Regions from separate parts of the Homo sapiens genome. Here all the other regions are linked to region 3. The links are contacts of gene promoters, found by promoter capture Hi-C in blood cells and fetal thymus (Javierre and others, 2016). All regions are on one chromosome and are shown on one strand. Each heading gives the region's core, a stretch centred on a gene start or on the middle of the fragment in contact. The rest is flanking DNA. Distances are from core to core; before and after follow the strand shown. Region 1 overlaps HAT1 (histone acetyltransferase 1). Region 2 holds the start of HAT1 (histone acetyltransferase 1). Region 3 holds the start of ITGA6-AS1 (ITGA6 and PDK1 antisense RNA 1). Region 4 overlaps SLC25A12 (solute carrier family 25 member 12).

What was found. The method cuts DNA at HindIII sites, captures the fragments that hold promoters and counts their contacts. A CHiCAGO score of 5 or more calls a contact.
Region 1: a fragment that was not itself captured here is called in contact with the fragment with the promoter of ITGA6-AS1 in region 3 in 1 of 17 cell types (total CD8 T cells); the score reaches 5.0 in total CD8 T cells.
Region 2: the fragment with the promoter of HAT1 here is called in contact with the fragment with the promoter of ITGA6-AS1 in region 3 in 2 of 17 cell types (naive CD4 T cells and total CD8 T cells); the score reaches 6.2 in naive CD4 T cells.
Region 4: a fragment that was not itself captured here is called in contact with the fragment with the promoter of ITGA6-AS1 in region 3 in 1 of 17 cell types (activated CD4 T cells); the score reaches 6.5 in activated CD4 T cells.

The regions. Positions count from the first base shown.
Region 1 is chr2:171,944,278-171,947,481 of GRCh38, forward strand. It overlaps HAT1 (histone acetyltransferase 1), which reads left to right. Exons shown (of 11, transcript NM_003642.4): 3 at 2,431-2,506. Among named protein-coding and RNA genes, the nearest start is that of HAT1, 23 kb to the left of the region's middle. The HindIII fragment of the contact is 2,789 bases long and covers 131-2,919 here.
Region 2 is chr2:171,920,640-171,923,931 of GRCh38, forward strand. HAT1 (histone acetyltransferase 1) reads left to right here and starts at 1,822. Exons shown (of 11, transcript NM_003642.4): 1 at 1,822-1,868. The coding sequence starts at 1,862. It overlaps LOC105373740 (a long non-coding RNA gene), which reads right to left and starts at 1,750. Exons shown (of 3, transcript XR_923579.2): 1 at 1,400-1,750; 2 at 441-592. RefSeq lists enhancers at 1,258-1,906, 2,047-2,096. The HindIII fragment of the contact is 14,743 bases long and covers 1,361-3,292 here.
Region 3 is chr2:172,463,967-172,467,313 of GRCh38, forward strand. ITGA6-AS1 (ITGA6 and PDK1 antisense RNA 1) reads right to left here and starts at 2,056. Exons shown (of 2, transcript NR_157573.1): 1 at 1,858-2,056; 2 at 296-608. ITGA6 (integrin subunit alpha 6) reads left to right here. Exons shown (of 26, transcript NM_000210.4): 2 at 1,573-1,697. PDK1-AS1 (PDK1 and ITGA6 antisense RNA 1) reads right to left here. Exons shown (of 4, transcript NR_199657.1): 4 at 300-608. RefSeq lists an enhancer at 2,297-2,466. The HindIII fragment of the contact is 13,641 bases long and covers 1-3,347 here.
Region 4 is chr2:171,881,956-171,885,276 of GRCh38, forward strand. The region is part of intron 2 of SLC25A12 (solute carrier family 25 member 12); the gene reads right to left. Among named protein-coding and RNA genes, the nearest start is that of SLC25A12, 11 kb to the right of the region's middle. The HindIII fragment of the contact is 186 bases long and covers 1,699-1,884 here.

The DNA of each region.
Region 1 (3,204 bases), core at 275-2,774, 520 kb before region 3:
ACATTGATTTATTTGGGAGAGTAAAGTCATTGCACAGATAAATGTACATTCTGGATTTGTGTATTTCCTTTTGATATTAGTTTAACTTCCTCCTCTATCCTCTGTATTTCCTGTGAATTGGAAGGTAAAAAGCTTGATTAGATTTAAGATAAAAATTTTTGGTGAGAAAACTTCATGGGTGATGCAGCATACAGTTGGTCCTTGAACAACACGACTTGAACTGTGTGGGTCCACTTACACATGGACTTTTTTTCCTACCAAATGCAGATAGAAAGTACAGTGGGACACCAGACAGAACTACAGGACTTGAGTATGATGGATTTTGGTACAGTCAGGGGTCCTAGAGCCAGTCTCTTGAGTATACTGAGGGATGACTGTACTTCATATTGCATTGAATCAGGAGGCACATAATGTTGTTCTGTCCCACAATGAATGATGCTAAGTTAGATCATTTGGAAAGGAGGTGACTACCAGATCTCTACAGTGAAAATATACCTTTTCTTCTGTAAATTAGTAATATGCTGGTGATACTTTGGCATGCAGGGAGTGACCTGGTCTGTGAGGACAGTGTTAGAAATTTTTCATCTACAGTTTATCTTCTTTTTTCCCCCTGAGACGGAGTCTCGCTCGATCACCCAGGCTGGAGCGCAGTGGCACAATCTCAGCTCAATGCAACCTCCTCCTCCCAGGTTCAAGCGATTCTCATGCCTCAGCCTCCAGAGTAGTTGGGATTATAGGGACCTACCACCATGCCTGGCTAATTTTTGTATTTTAGTAGAGATGGCATTTCACCATATTGGTTAGGCTGGTCTTGAACTCCTGACTTCAAGTGATCTGCCTGCCTCAGCCTCCCAAAGTGCTGGGATTACAGGTGTGAGCCACCGCGCCCAGCCCTCCAATTTTTCTTTACATTCTTCAATTGCTTAAGAATTTTTTAATGAATAAAATTTTCTTCCTAAGATAAATTTTATCAGGGAACTATCTAGTATTTCAGTACTCACAACAAATACAAATAAAAATAATAAAAGGATACCCATTCCATCTTAGATTGATAGAAATTGAAGTCGAGGGTACAGAGTATCCTTGAGTACAGCAGAGTGTTCTCAAGGATGTAGGGAGCAAAGGAGTCTACAAGCTATGGGTATATAAACTGCTTGTGGGTGTATAAACTGTTACAATATTTTTATAGGGCACTTTAGCTAGCTAGCTAGCTATCTATAATTTTTTTTTTTTTTTTTTTGAGACAGTCTTTGTCGCCCAGGCTGGAGTGCAGTGGCATGATCTTGGCTCACTGCAACCTCTACCTCCTGGATTTAAGCGATTCTCCTGCCTCAGCCCTCTAAGTAGCTGGGACTACAGGCATGCGCCACCATGGCTAGCCAATTATTTATTTATTTATTTATTTTTTTGAGAGAGAGTCTCGCTCTCTTGGCCAGGCTGCAGTGCAGTGGCACGATCTCGGCTCACTGCAACCTCCGCCTCCTGGGCTCAAGTAGTTCTCCTGCCTCAGCCTCCCAAGTAGCTGGGATTACAGGTTGTGTGCCACCATGCCCGGCTAATTTTTGTATTTTTAGTAGAGATGGGGTTTCACCATGTTGGCCAGGCTGGTCTTGAACTCCTGACCTCAGGTAATCTGCCCACCTCAGCCTCCCAGAGTGTTGGGATTACAGGCATGAGCCACTGTGCCCAGCCTAATTTTTGAATTTTTAGTAGAGATGGTTTCACCATGTCAGCCAGGCTGGGCGTGAACTCCTGACCTCAGATGATCCACCTGCCTTGGCCTCCCAAAGTGCTGGGATTACAGGCATGAGCCACTGCACCTGGCCACTTTAGCAATATTTATACAAATATTTCAGTACTCTCCCCCTAGTTTTCTGCTGCCAGGAATTTCCCCTGTGTATACTTATAAAAGTACAGCAGGATGTATATAAGGATGTCATTGCAGTGTTATTTTTAATAGCAAAAAACAAACATGAGAACAACATAAATGTCATCTAGCAGTCAAAAAGAATGACTTCATCAAACTCAGGTTATTGTTATTATCAGAATGTTTCTTACAGCATTCTGTTTTCATTTGCTGTAACTTCTTACCTCAAAGTGTCTTTTTGTTTTTCCTTTACTCATTGCATTGTGCATAAACATGGAAAAATAAAAACTAAATGAGGTGCCTCTGTCATACTTAGCCTTCTGATTCTTAGAATAAGTAGGGTTTTGACGCTGAAGCACTCAAAGTAATATTTTAATTTTCTTTGTTCACTAGTCTCTTGAGAATACAGTGTAAATAAATCATATAATGGTGAAATGACACTTTTAGTAAGAAAAATGTTGGCTGTATCCTAGTTATACTGAAACTCATGAAATAGGAATACCTGTCACCTTCAATATCTTTAGTTATCTTTAATATCTCTATTTTTTTGTCCCTTGAAACAGTTCGTTTTCCTGAAGATCTTGAAAATGACATTAGAACTTTCTTTCCTGAGTATACCCATCAACTCTTTGGGGATGAGTAAGTAACTTAGTAAAATATTTGTCAAATTAGTATGGAAAAAAAAATTTTCATTCTTTTTCTTTTAGATTTAGAAATCAAATTTTATTTTCTTCTTATTTTTAATGTGGTTTATCTTAAAATATATGTTATAATGGTGTTTTTTTACATTGAGACACCAGTTATTTTAATACCTACCATTTAGTGCTGTAAATGCATTATTTAATTCTCACAGCAGTATTAATGATGGTATTATTATTTGCTGCTTTGTGCATTGATAGAATTGGATAATTGTTCATGAACATACAAATGGCTGGAGTATAGATTTTAGGCAATCTGACTCCAGAGCCCATAATCATAACTACTACTTTTTTCTGCTACCATTTTGCTAAATTACTTCTAGTAGCATGTATTCCCCTAAAGCTGTAATAGAAAGCTTAAGTTGTTATTCTATGATCAAATAAGCAGTTGAGAGAAGTTTATTTATTTATTATTTATTTATTTATTTTTGAGATAGGGTCTCGCTGTGTCACCCAGGCTGGAGTGCAGTAGTGTGATCAAAGCTCACTGCAGCCTGAACCTCCTGGGCATAAGCAGTCCTCCCACCTGAGCCTCCGAGTAGCTGGGACTACAGGCACACACCATCATGCCTGGCTTTTTTTAAAAAATTTTTTGTAGAGATTGGGTCTCCCTATGTTGCCCAGGCTGGCCTTGAACTC
Region 2 (3,292 bases), core at 572-3,071, 540 kb before region 3:
TCCGCCCGCCTCGGCATCACAAAGTGCTGGGATTACAGGCGTGAGCCACCACGCCCGGCCTATGACTGTAATTTCTTGTGTATCATTAGGTTTCAAGAAAAAGGATCTTGAAACCTTTTCTTGGGATCACGACTGTAATCCCAGCACTTTTGGAGGCCGAGATGGGCAGATCATCTGAGGTTGGGAGTTCGAGATCAGCCTAACCAACATGGAGAAACCCCGTCTCTACAAAAATACAAAATTGCTGGGTGTGGTGGCGCATGCCTGTAATCCCAGCGACTCAGGAGGCTGAGGCAGAAGAATCGCTTGAACCCGGGAGGCGGAGGCTGTGGTGAGCTGAGATTGTGCCATTGCACTCCAGCCTGGGCAACAAGAGTGAAACTCCGTCTAAAAAAAAAAAAAAAAAAAAGAAAGAAAAAGGATCTGGGCATTCTCAGTACCTTTTCTGATCTTTATCTTCAGGAAAGCCATCTCTATATAGTTGAGCAAATAAATACTGGGCTGAGTATCTGATGAACTGCACTCTGCATAGGTTGCATACTGAGAATGAACTTGGGCAGTTTATCTTTTCTGGGCTTTGGTTTCCTCATCTCTAAAATGAGAGGGCGTGTTAGTTCTAGACCATCATCCCAAGGGTCCATTTTAGCTTTAGCGTGCATCACTGTAAAACCTGTTAACAAATATTTGTTGAGATAAGGAATTCTGGTGTATAGCCAACATTGTGGGAATATTTGTGGATACCTAAATAGTGGTTTATCCTCTGGGGAAAGCAGTTCCTACAGCTACTAAATACTAACAAGGCCTATGGCTAAAATCAGGTAGCACCTTGTGATGTAATTCAAACCACTAGGACATGTGGCATGCAAGACTACATCAGGCTACTTGAGGTATTTATTAGGTAACAATTTTTTTTTTTTTTTGAGACGGAGTCTCACTCTGTTGCCCAGGCTGGAGTGTAGTGGCGCAATCTCGGCTCACTGCAACTTTCGCCTCCAGGGTTCAAGCGATTCTCCTGCCTCAGCCTCCCGAGTAGCTGGGATTACAGGCGCCTGCCACCATGCCTGGCTAATTTTTGTATTTTTAGTAGAGACGGGGTTTCACTATGTTGGCTACACTGGTCTCGAACTCCTGAGCTCAGGCAATCTACCCGCCTCGGCCTCCCAAAGTGCTGGGATTATAGGCGTGAGCCACCGCGCCCGGCCTAGGTAACGATTTTTGCGCGCTAAACGGTTCTTAGTAACCTGCAGAGTGAAAGCAGAGTACCTAAATATCATACTGTATACGTTAAAAACAGGGGAGAAAGGAAAAAAGGTGTTAAAGTTTACAGCAAAATGAGAAACAAATGAGGAAAACAAGTGAAAGCTTCTCCCGCAACTGAAACTCAACCTCTACATTTTACCTAGGTAAAATGGTAAAATTGCCCACAGGGCTCAGGTGTTTGGATGCACTGTCCAGGCCAAGAGGAAAGATTTTCAGCCAGTCTCCAAAACATCTCAGGGACGGGTATGGAAAACAGGCGTAAAGTGTCTGTATTGATCAAATCAACCCCAGAGAAACTTTCCTAGGGCCAGAGAGCATCTCAACCGCGAAAGTCCGTTTGCGGCCTCCTTCTCCACTTCAGGCCTGCAAAGCGGCTGACGGCATTCGCAGTGGCTAGGCAACGGCCCGCGCAGACTTCTCGGCGTTAGCCCCGCCTCTTGAGGCGCTTCCGCCGCCGGGCTCCTGGACACGCCTCCTTTAATTGGCTAACGTCACGCTGGGAGTGGGCGGGGAAAATATGTCAGACTGTGCGGTCACTTCCGGCCCGGGAGCGCGCGGGTTGATTCGTCCTTCCTCAGCCGCGGGTGATCGTAGCTCGGAAATGGCGGGTAAGTTACCGGGAAAAGTTTACCAAGGGGAGGAGGCGGCCAGATCGGGGATAGAACGCCGAGACGGTGGTGACAATGCCCGCCTAGAACTTTCGGGCTGTAGCCTGGGTTCCAGAAGGCCTGCTTGGGACCGGAAGCGCGGAACTCTCAGCCCAGCAGCTCCTTGTTGGCGGCGGTCCGCGCCCCCGCCCCCAACTGCTTGGGGTTCTGCGCCTTCTGCCAGCAATCCGGCCCCTACCGAGGGCCGAAGACGCCAGGGAAAAGCGTCATGATTTGGGCTCGTAAAATGCCACATGCCTTGGGGCCTGTTTCTCTTCCCATTCCTTTTGTCCACTGCTGCTTGCTTCAGCTCTTGTACATCTGGTCCTGTTCCCGCCAGCTGATTTTAATGCTCAGATCCTCCTCCTCTTCCAGGTCTCCGTCTACCTTCCACTACAGTCAACTTCTGAGCTAGCGCATTGCTGCCTTGCCCTGCTCTGGCGCTCCCACTTGGATCTCGACTGACTTCGTAGTCGTCTCGTTAATCTGTCACACTTTAGTATTCCGAGGATCGTATTTAGATGCCCTTTGAGAAAGACTTTGTTCCTGAACTGCTCCCTTCTCTTTTAGGGTTGGACTACTATAATACAATTCTCTTGTGTACATTCTAGAGACCCTTCAAGTTACAACATTTAATAATGTATAATTGCTATTACTTTGTACGTGTATTAAGGCTGTTTTGGTGTGATTATTTTTTTCGATTACTTATCTTTTGAAGTTATGGACAGTTTCTTTTTCCTGAGACAGGGTCTCTCTGTCGCCCAGGCTGGAGTGCAGCGATCATAGTTCCGGGCAGCTTCCAACTCCTCGTAGGCTCAAGCGATCCTCTTGCCTCAGCCTCCCGAGTAGCTAGGACTACAGGCATGCGCCACAACATTCGGCTAAAAAAAAACAATTTTTTTTAACCTTTTAGAGACAGAGTCTGGCTGTATTGCCTCAGGCCGGTCTGGAACTCTTGGCCTCAAGCCATCCTCTCGCCTCAGCTTCCCAAAGTGTTGGAATGACAGGATTGAGCCACTTCGCTGGCCTTTGTTGCTTTTATCATCTCTTTACAGGGCATTCCTCATAGTCTCTCTACATTAACCATTCCATTTTTATGAATATGTGGGATAGACAAGCTGTTGTGTGAGCTCTACAGATGTTTAAAGAAGGACTTTTCTACCAGATGGAGATTGTAGGATCTTGAAGTACCACAGAAGAGGGAGGACGTACTCTAAGAATTACATCTAAATTCGAATTTTGGGCCCATCATTTAGTAGTTGGATGCCCTTCAACTAAACCTCTTTCTAAGCCTGAACTTTTGAATGTAAAATGGGGTTGATGTAATACCTACTTATAGAATTGTGCAGATTGAGCTAATATATGATTTCACAGGTTAAATTTTG
Region 3 (3,347 bases), core at 806-3,305:
GTTCAGGCACCAAGGACACTGCTCCAGTTCCTAATTTAAAAGTCTGTGTGTCAGTTCTGTACCTTGGTGTGTGCTGTTTTGTTCCTTCAAATGTAGGGTGGGTTTGGAGGTGGGGGCTGACTGTGACTGTCCAGGGATCTGGGAGGAAGGACAGTGCTGGGGCTATGTGTTATCCATGAGCCACCCCTCCTTCTCTGTCTGGGCATCATCTGGCCCCCCTCCCTGCTTTCCAGGTACACTTGCCTCCGGTGGCACCTGCTGCATGATATTGGTTTAAAAAAAATATGTTGAATCCTTTATTGGAATGATTCCTTTATTGGGACCCAACAGGCATGAAGGTAATAGAGACTATTTGGTTTGTATTTTCATTTGTTTTGCTTTTGCTTCTGAGATTTGTGGGTTTCTTGATGGCCAGGAGTGGCTTGTTTTCTGTTGTAAGAATTTGTTGTTTGTACAGGTTCGTGTTCCCAGTCCTTTTCCTCAGCTCCAGCCTTGTTTCCAAAACTCTCAGCTCTTGGTTTATCTCTGTCCAGTCAGGTGTGTGTTCTTTGTCTTTGTTTCTTGTCCTAGTTGTTCCATGAGTCAGCCAGGCCTCAAAGATTGTAAACCTGATGGTGAGTAAAGGTGTTAGCAAAAGAGACCTAGCAACAAGGTCATTGGATCTCTAAAGAGCCTGTCAAGCTGTGAGATGGTGAAATTTTAAGGACTGTGGATTTGGACTGGGGGCCTCCTTATAGGAGATAAAAACACTCGGCTGGGGAGAAGAAGGAATATTACAGTGCCTAGTACATAAGTGGAGCTACACCAGTTGTCCCTGAATCCTTTGTGGGAGACTGATAGGATGAGAGAGGACGAACTCTTGTAATGTGACAAAAGTGCAAGGAAGTAAGAACTGACTTGGAAGAACAAACATCAACTTGTACACCTCAAATATATCTGCTTTTTATTTGTCCATTCTACCCTAATAAAACTGGAGGGAAAAAAAAAAAAGAATTGGAAAGAGGCCAAGGCTGCAAGTGAATAATTCAGTCGAGTTGTATCTTACTTACCATTAGGTTCTCTCAATTAGTATATAAACTGAAAATCTAAGATATAGTCAGAATTACCCTTGAAAACTACCTCAGGAAGGCACAGTGTTAGAAACTGACATATTATTGCTTATTACATTTAGTGTGGCCATTTTTTCCTTCCATTGTCACAAGTATTTGGTTTCTTCTCTTGAGTTTCATATGATATCCCTGGCATCATAGGGGCTTAGAGGTTGTATTCTTTGAAGAGGGTGTCTTTTAAACACCAGATCATACCCAGCAAGAAATGCTGATACTATGAGAGACAGGCCTATTTTCCTCGTTTTGGTATCCCCTCTTTGGCTTCCCCTGTTTAGTTGTGTTTGTGCGTTTTGCATGAACCAGCCATAGGACTCTACATTTGTTCTCACTCACTGCCTAAGCTGTTGAAGAATTAGTGGACTCCTAGACAAAGAATAATCCCACTATCTCCTAGTTCTGACTGATTTAACTGTTAAACGTATATTAAATTCAAATCTCCAAATTGTCTCTGTTTCATCAACAGGTTGCTCGTGGGGGCCCCGCGGGCAGAAGCGCTTCCACTGCAGAGAGCCAACAGAACGGGAGGGCTGTACAGCTGCGACATCACCGCCCGGGGGCCATGCACGCGGATCGAGTTTGATAACGATGGTGCGTTCCTTTCCCTCACTCAGCGTTCACTCCGGCAGCTTGCCTGTACTGTTTCCATGAGGGAGGAGAGTGGGGACAAACATTTATTCTTGTAGAGAGGACTTCTTTTAATTGCATCAGACTTGACTGTTTTTTATTTGCCCTGAAAATATTTACTTACTTTACTTCTGAATCATACTGGGATGCCGCGTGTTTTGCTGCTCCTCCTAACCGTGGTTTCTAAACCGATATGGTGTAGGGATGTTGCCACCTAGTGATGTGTTGAGGTTCTGCAGGAGGTTGTGGAAAAACTCATTTCATAGCAATGAAGAGAATGAATGAGCGTATCTTGTATTCATCAGCCAAAAGTTCTCACATGCTGTTAAAATATTTGGGAGAAAGACAGTTTTAAATATCAGACCCCTTTGGAATGAGAGCTGGCTAACAGAGATAAAGTTTTCCCTCCTGTCTCAGATAGAGACTTGTTTTGTTAAGGGCTCTGGATAGGTAGAAGATACCATGAGGTAGGCATGTTGACATCCAGTGTACCTGGCTTCTTGTAGGTTGAGCAGAGCAATTAGTGTACTGAGAAGCTCTAGCCAAACCTCGTTTGATATGTTCGGTCTAAGTAGATTTGCAGATTCGTGTCTATGTTCTTCTCTTGCTTCTTCATCTTTTAGAAATAACATTTGTTGGCCAGGCGTCGGTGGCTCACACCTGTAATCCTAGCATTTTGGGAGGCCGAGTTGGGTGGATCATTTGAGGTCAGGAGTTCAAGACCAGCCTGGCCAACATGGTGAAACCCCATCTCTACTAAAAATACAAAAATTAGCCAGGCGTGGTGGTGTACGCCTGTAGTCCTAGCTACTTAGGAGGCTGAGGCGTGAGAATTGTTTGAACCTGGGAGGCAGAGGCTGCAGTGAGCCAAAATCGTGCCACTACACTCCAGCCTGGGTGACAGAGCAAGATACCATCTCAAGAAAAGAAATAACATGTGTTCTTTTATTAGAAACTAATATGTGTTAATTTTAAGAAGCTGGTAAAATACACAGACCTATGAAGAATAAAAAAACCCACTGGCAATCTCAGTATCTAGACTTATTTTTTAACATTTTGGCATTTTTCCTTCTGTCTAAAGTTGTTTAATGTTTTTGTAATGATTCAAGATTAAAACCTGTGTCTGTATTGCTACTTATGGAGGAGTGCAAAATTTGGATATAGGTCACACAGTGGGTTTAAATTGATACTGAAATGAGCACCTGGTGGTGTTTGTGGTCCCCGTCTCTCTGACTAACAGTAACTCTCCTGTTTGGCATTGATACATTGTCAGCTACAAGATCCTAAAGTAAATCTGAGTCTTTTTCTTCCATCTCCAGTAAAGAAGAGAACATTTAATGCTGTTAAATAAAAAAATTGGGGAGTATATAGAGAAGTACCCATTTTTTTTGTTAGTTTGGATGGTAGCTGCAGTTTGGAATACTAGATTTTACATTGTTGCCTTAAGAGATGTATTTTGGAGGGCTCCCTTAGTCTTACAGTTTCACTTACCTTCTGCATTCAGGACCCTAGGTATCAAGAGAGGGCAAAGGGTATTGTTGGACAAAATAGGCAACTATATAGAGCTAAGTACTTTATGTTTCAAATGTTTGAAAGATTCCAAAAACCACATCT
Region 4 (3,321 bases), core at 542-3,041, 580 kb before region 3:
TCTTCTTCAGGGGTCCTAATTTTGGTTATTTTTTGTCATTTCACTTAAGGTATTTTTGCAGATAGTATGACAGCTGCACTGGAATGTTCTAGAAAGCTACCAAATACAGCAGTGTTGACTTGGAGGCACAGAATCTCTTGCCATCTCTGTCTCCCAGCCTCCCTGAGTCACCCCTAGGCTTCCAGGTTTTCCAATCCCTTATATGCTATACATAAACAGTTCTTGGTTTTAATGTGCCTAGCTTTCCTTCCCCCCTTCTGGTAACTGCATGCTAATTTTTCTTGAACATACACACCTCCCTCACCCTCAATTTACACAGGTCATTCAAATGGGGCTGACTCAACTGAACAGTTCCAGAGGTGAGCATGTGAACCAGATCTGGCCAATGAGAACACTGCCTCCTTCTAGTACATGGGTTTTCTTGGGGTATTAGGGAGGACAATAATTCCTAGACTTAACCTAGAAATTGGAGAAACAGTACCTTTTCTCTGCTGAATGGGTAGGATTTTAATCTGGGGATGCTCCACATGGCAAAGCCTGTTTGAGAATGAAGCTAGCACAACAGAAACCAAAACTAAGAGATGAAAGGTGCATGATCCCTGGTGACAGCAGTTAAGCTCCTGATCCACTCATGGCTAGAGCCAGTACATTCTAAGCCTACGCATGTTTAACCAAAATTCCTGTCACTGAAGACTGAAATAGTACTGACTAATATTTTCAAAATGTGTGTTTCTTCCAGTTCTAGAAACCCAACGCTGGCCATAGCAATGGTTTCAGTGGAAGATGCTTTCAGAAATTTCCACAGTACTAAGTAAGAGAAATCTGCACAGAACAGGGAGGTGGTGATTTTAAAAAAGAAAGTTACGCACAAAAAAAAAATATGTATTTTTTCAAGTCTGTGTCTTGGGATTTCAGAGCCTATGGCTGGACCGTTATTCTTTTACACGTCCAGACTGAGCGAATGAAGTTTCAGAAGAAAACTCTGCAAACATCTTCCATGGTCTCTCGGGTCTCCCAGCCTTAGACTGTGACTATACAACATCTTAGAACCTCATAGACTTGAGAGAAATCGGTATTTGTCAATAACTTCAGATGGATGTCTCAAGAATGTAAGTAATTAACTGATTATATGTACATAATCATAAATACATATTAACATCTTAGTCTCTTGACTAGGTCCAGCATAGTCATCTGGAGAAGACAAGGGACTCAGATCTTATTCAAGAAACAAACAAAACATCCTAATCTCAACTTAGAAGAGAAGGAAAGAGACAAGGAACTAAGCTTTATTTGGTTCTGCATAGTTTACATGTTATTTTATTTAATCTTTAGAACATCCCTATGTGCTAGGTGTCATTATCCCTTCTTAGACAGATGAGAAAACAGGCTCCAAAAGTAAACACCTGAGCTCAAAAGGTTTCAAATGAGGATTCAAACCCAGGTTAGACTACAAATCCCATGTAGGCTCCAGGTACACTCTGCTGCCCTCTGGATGAAAAGGAGTTTCATCCAGCTCAAGATGTTCTAGGAACTCTATAGACAGGAGGACATTAAATTGAAAGAATCGGCCAGGCGTAGTGGCTCACGCCTGTAATCCCAGTACTTTGGGAGGCCATTTACCCCCATACTTAATTACCAATGCTTCAGGCACACTGGCCTTTCTGTTTGTTGAACACATCAAACCCTTTTCTATATCTAAGCTTTGTACGTGTGAGCCCTTTGGAATTCCCTCCACCACTTCACCCTCATTCCCTTTTAGTTCTCAGCTCTTAATATTGCCTCCTAAGGGCCCTTCACTGACCACTCTCTTGAAAAATGATTTAAAAAATGATGGCCCTTCTCATTATTCTGTTTACTTCCTTGGACGTGTCACAATCTGTAGTAAGCTTTTTTTTGTTTGTTTTGTTTTTTGTTTTGTTTTAAGAGACAGGGTCTTACTCTATCACCCAGGCTGGAGTGCAGTAGCATGACCCTAGCTCACTGTAACCTCAGACTCCTGGGCTCACATGATCTTCCTTCCTCAGCCTTCCTAGTAGCTAGGACTACAAGCACAGGCCACCATGCCTGGCTAATTTCTTTTCTTTTTTATCTTTTTTTTTTTTTTTGTAGAGACAGAATCTCACTTTTTTGGCCAGGCTGGTCTCAAACTAGTGGCCTCAAGTGATCCTCCTGCTTCAGCCTCCCAAAGAGGTGGGATTACAGGAATGAGCCAGTGTGCCCAGCCAATCTGTGGGCTTTTTTTTTTTTCCCCCCGAGACTGAGTCTTCCTCTGTCGCCCAGGCTGGAGTGCAATGACACGATCTCGGCTCACTGCAACCTCTGCCTCCTGGGTTCAAGCAATTCTCCCACCTCAGCCTCCCAAGTAGCTGGGATTACAGGCGCCCGCCACCACGCCTGGCTAATTTTTGTATTTTTAGTAGAGACGGGGTTTCACCTTGTTGTCCAGGCTGGTCTCGAACTCCTGACCTCGTGGTCTGCTCTGTGGGCTTTTTTAATTGTCCACCTCGCCCCTAGAATGTTAGGTTCTAGGCTGGGCACGGATGGTGGCTCTCATCTGTAATCCCAGCACTTTGGGAGGCCGAGGCAGGTACATCACCTGAGGTCAGGAGTTCGAGACCAGCCTGGCCAACATGATGATACCCCCATCTCTACTAAAAATACAAAAAAAATTTAGCCAGGTGTGGTGGTGCACATCTGTAATCCCAGCTACTCAGGAGGCTGAGGCAGGAGAATTGCTTGAACCTGGGATGCAGTGGTTGCAGTGAGCTGAGACTGCGCCATTGCACTCCAGCCTGGGCAACAAGAGCAAAACTCTGTCCCCCACCAAAAAAAAAAAAGAATGTGAGGTTCTACCTTCACTGAGGTCCTTTGTATTGTCCCTACCCTCACTAAACAGCTCTATCTTATCTCTATAAAGGTAGAACCTAGTACAGTGCTTAGCCTGGTACATAGTAGGCAATTAAAAGTGTATTGATCGGCCAGGTGCGGTGGCTCACGCCTATAATCCCAGCACTTTGGGAGGCCGAGGAGGGTGGATCACAAAGTCAGGAGACTGAGACCATCCTGGCTAACACGGTGAAACCCTGTCTCTACTAAAAATACAAAAAATTAGCTGGGCGTGGTGGCGGGCGCCTGTAGTCCCAGCTACTCGGGAGGCTGAGGCAGGAGAATGGCGTGAACCTGGGAGGCGGAGCTTGCAGTGAGCCCAGAGACTCCGTCTCAAAAAAAAAAAAAAAGTGTATTGATTGGTAGTAGAACATCACATGGCATTTAATAACACTAATTTTCTTATCTTTTTATTATTTTTCAATCCTTCTGCTT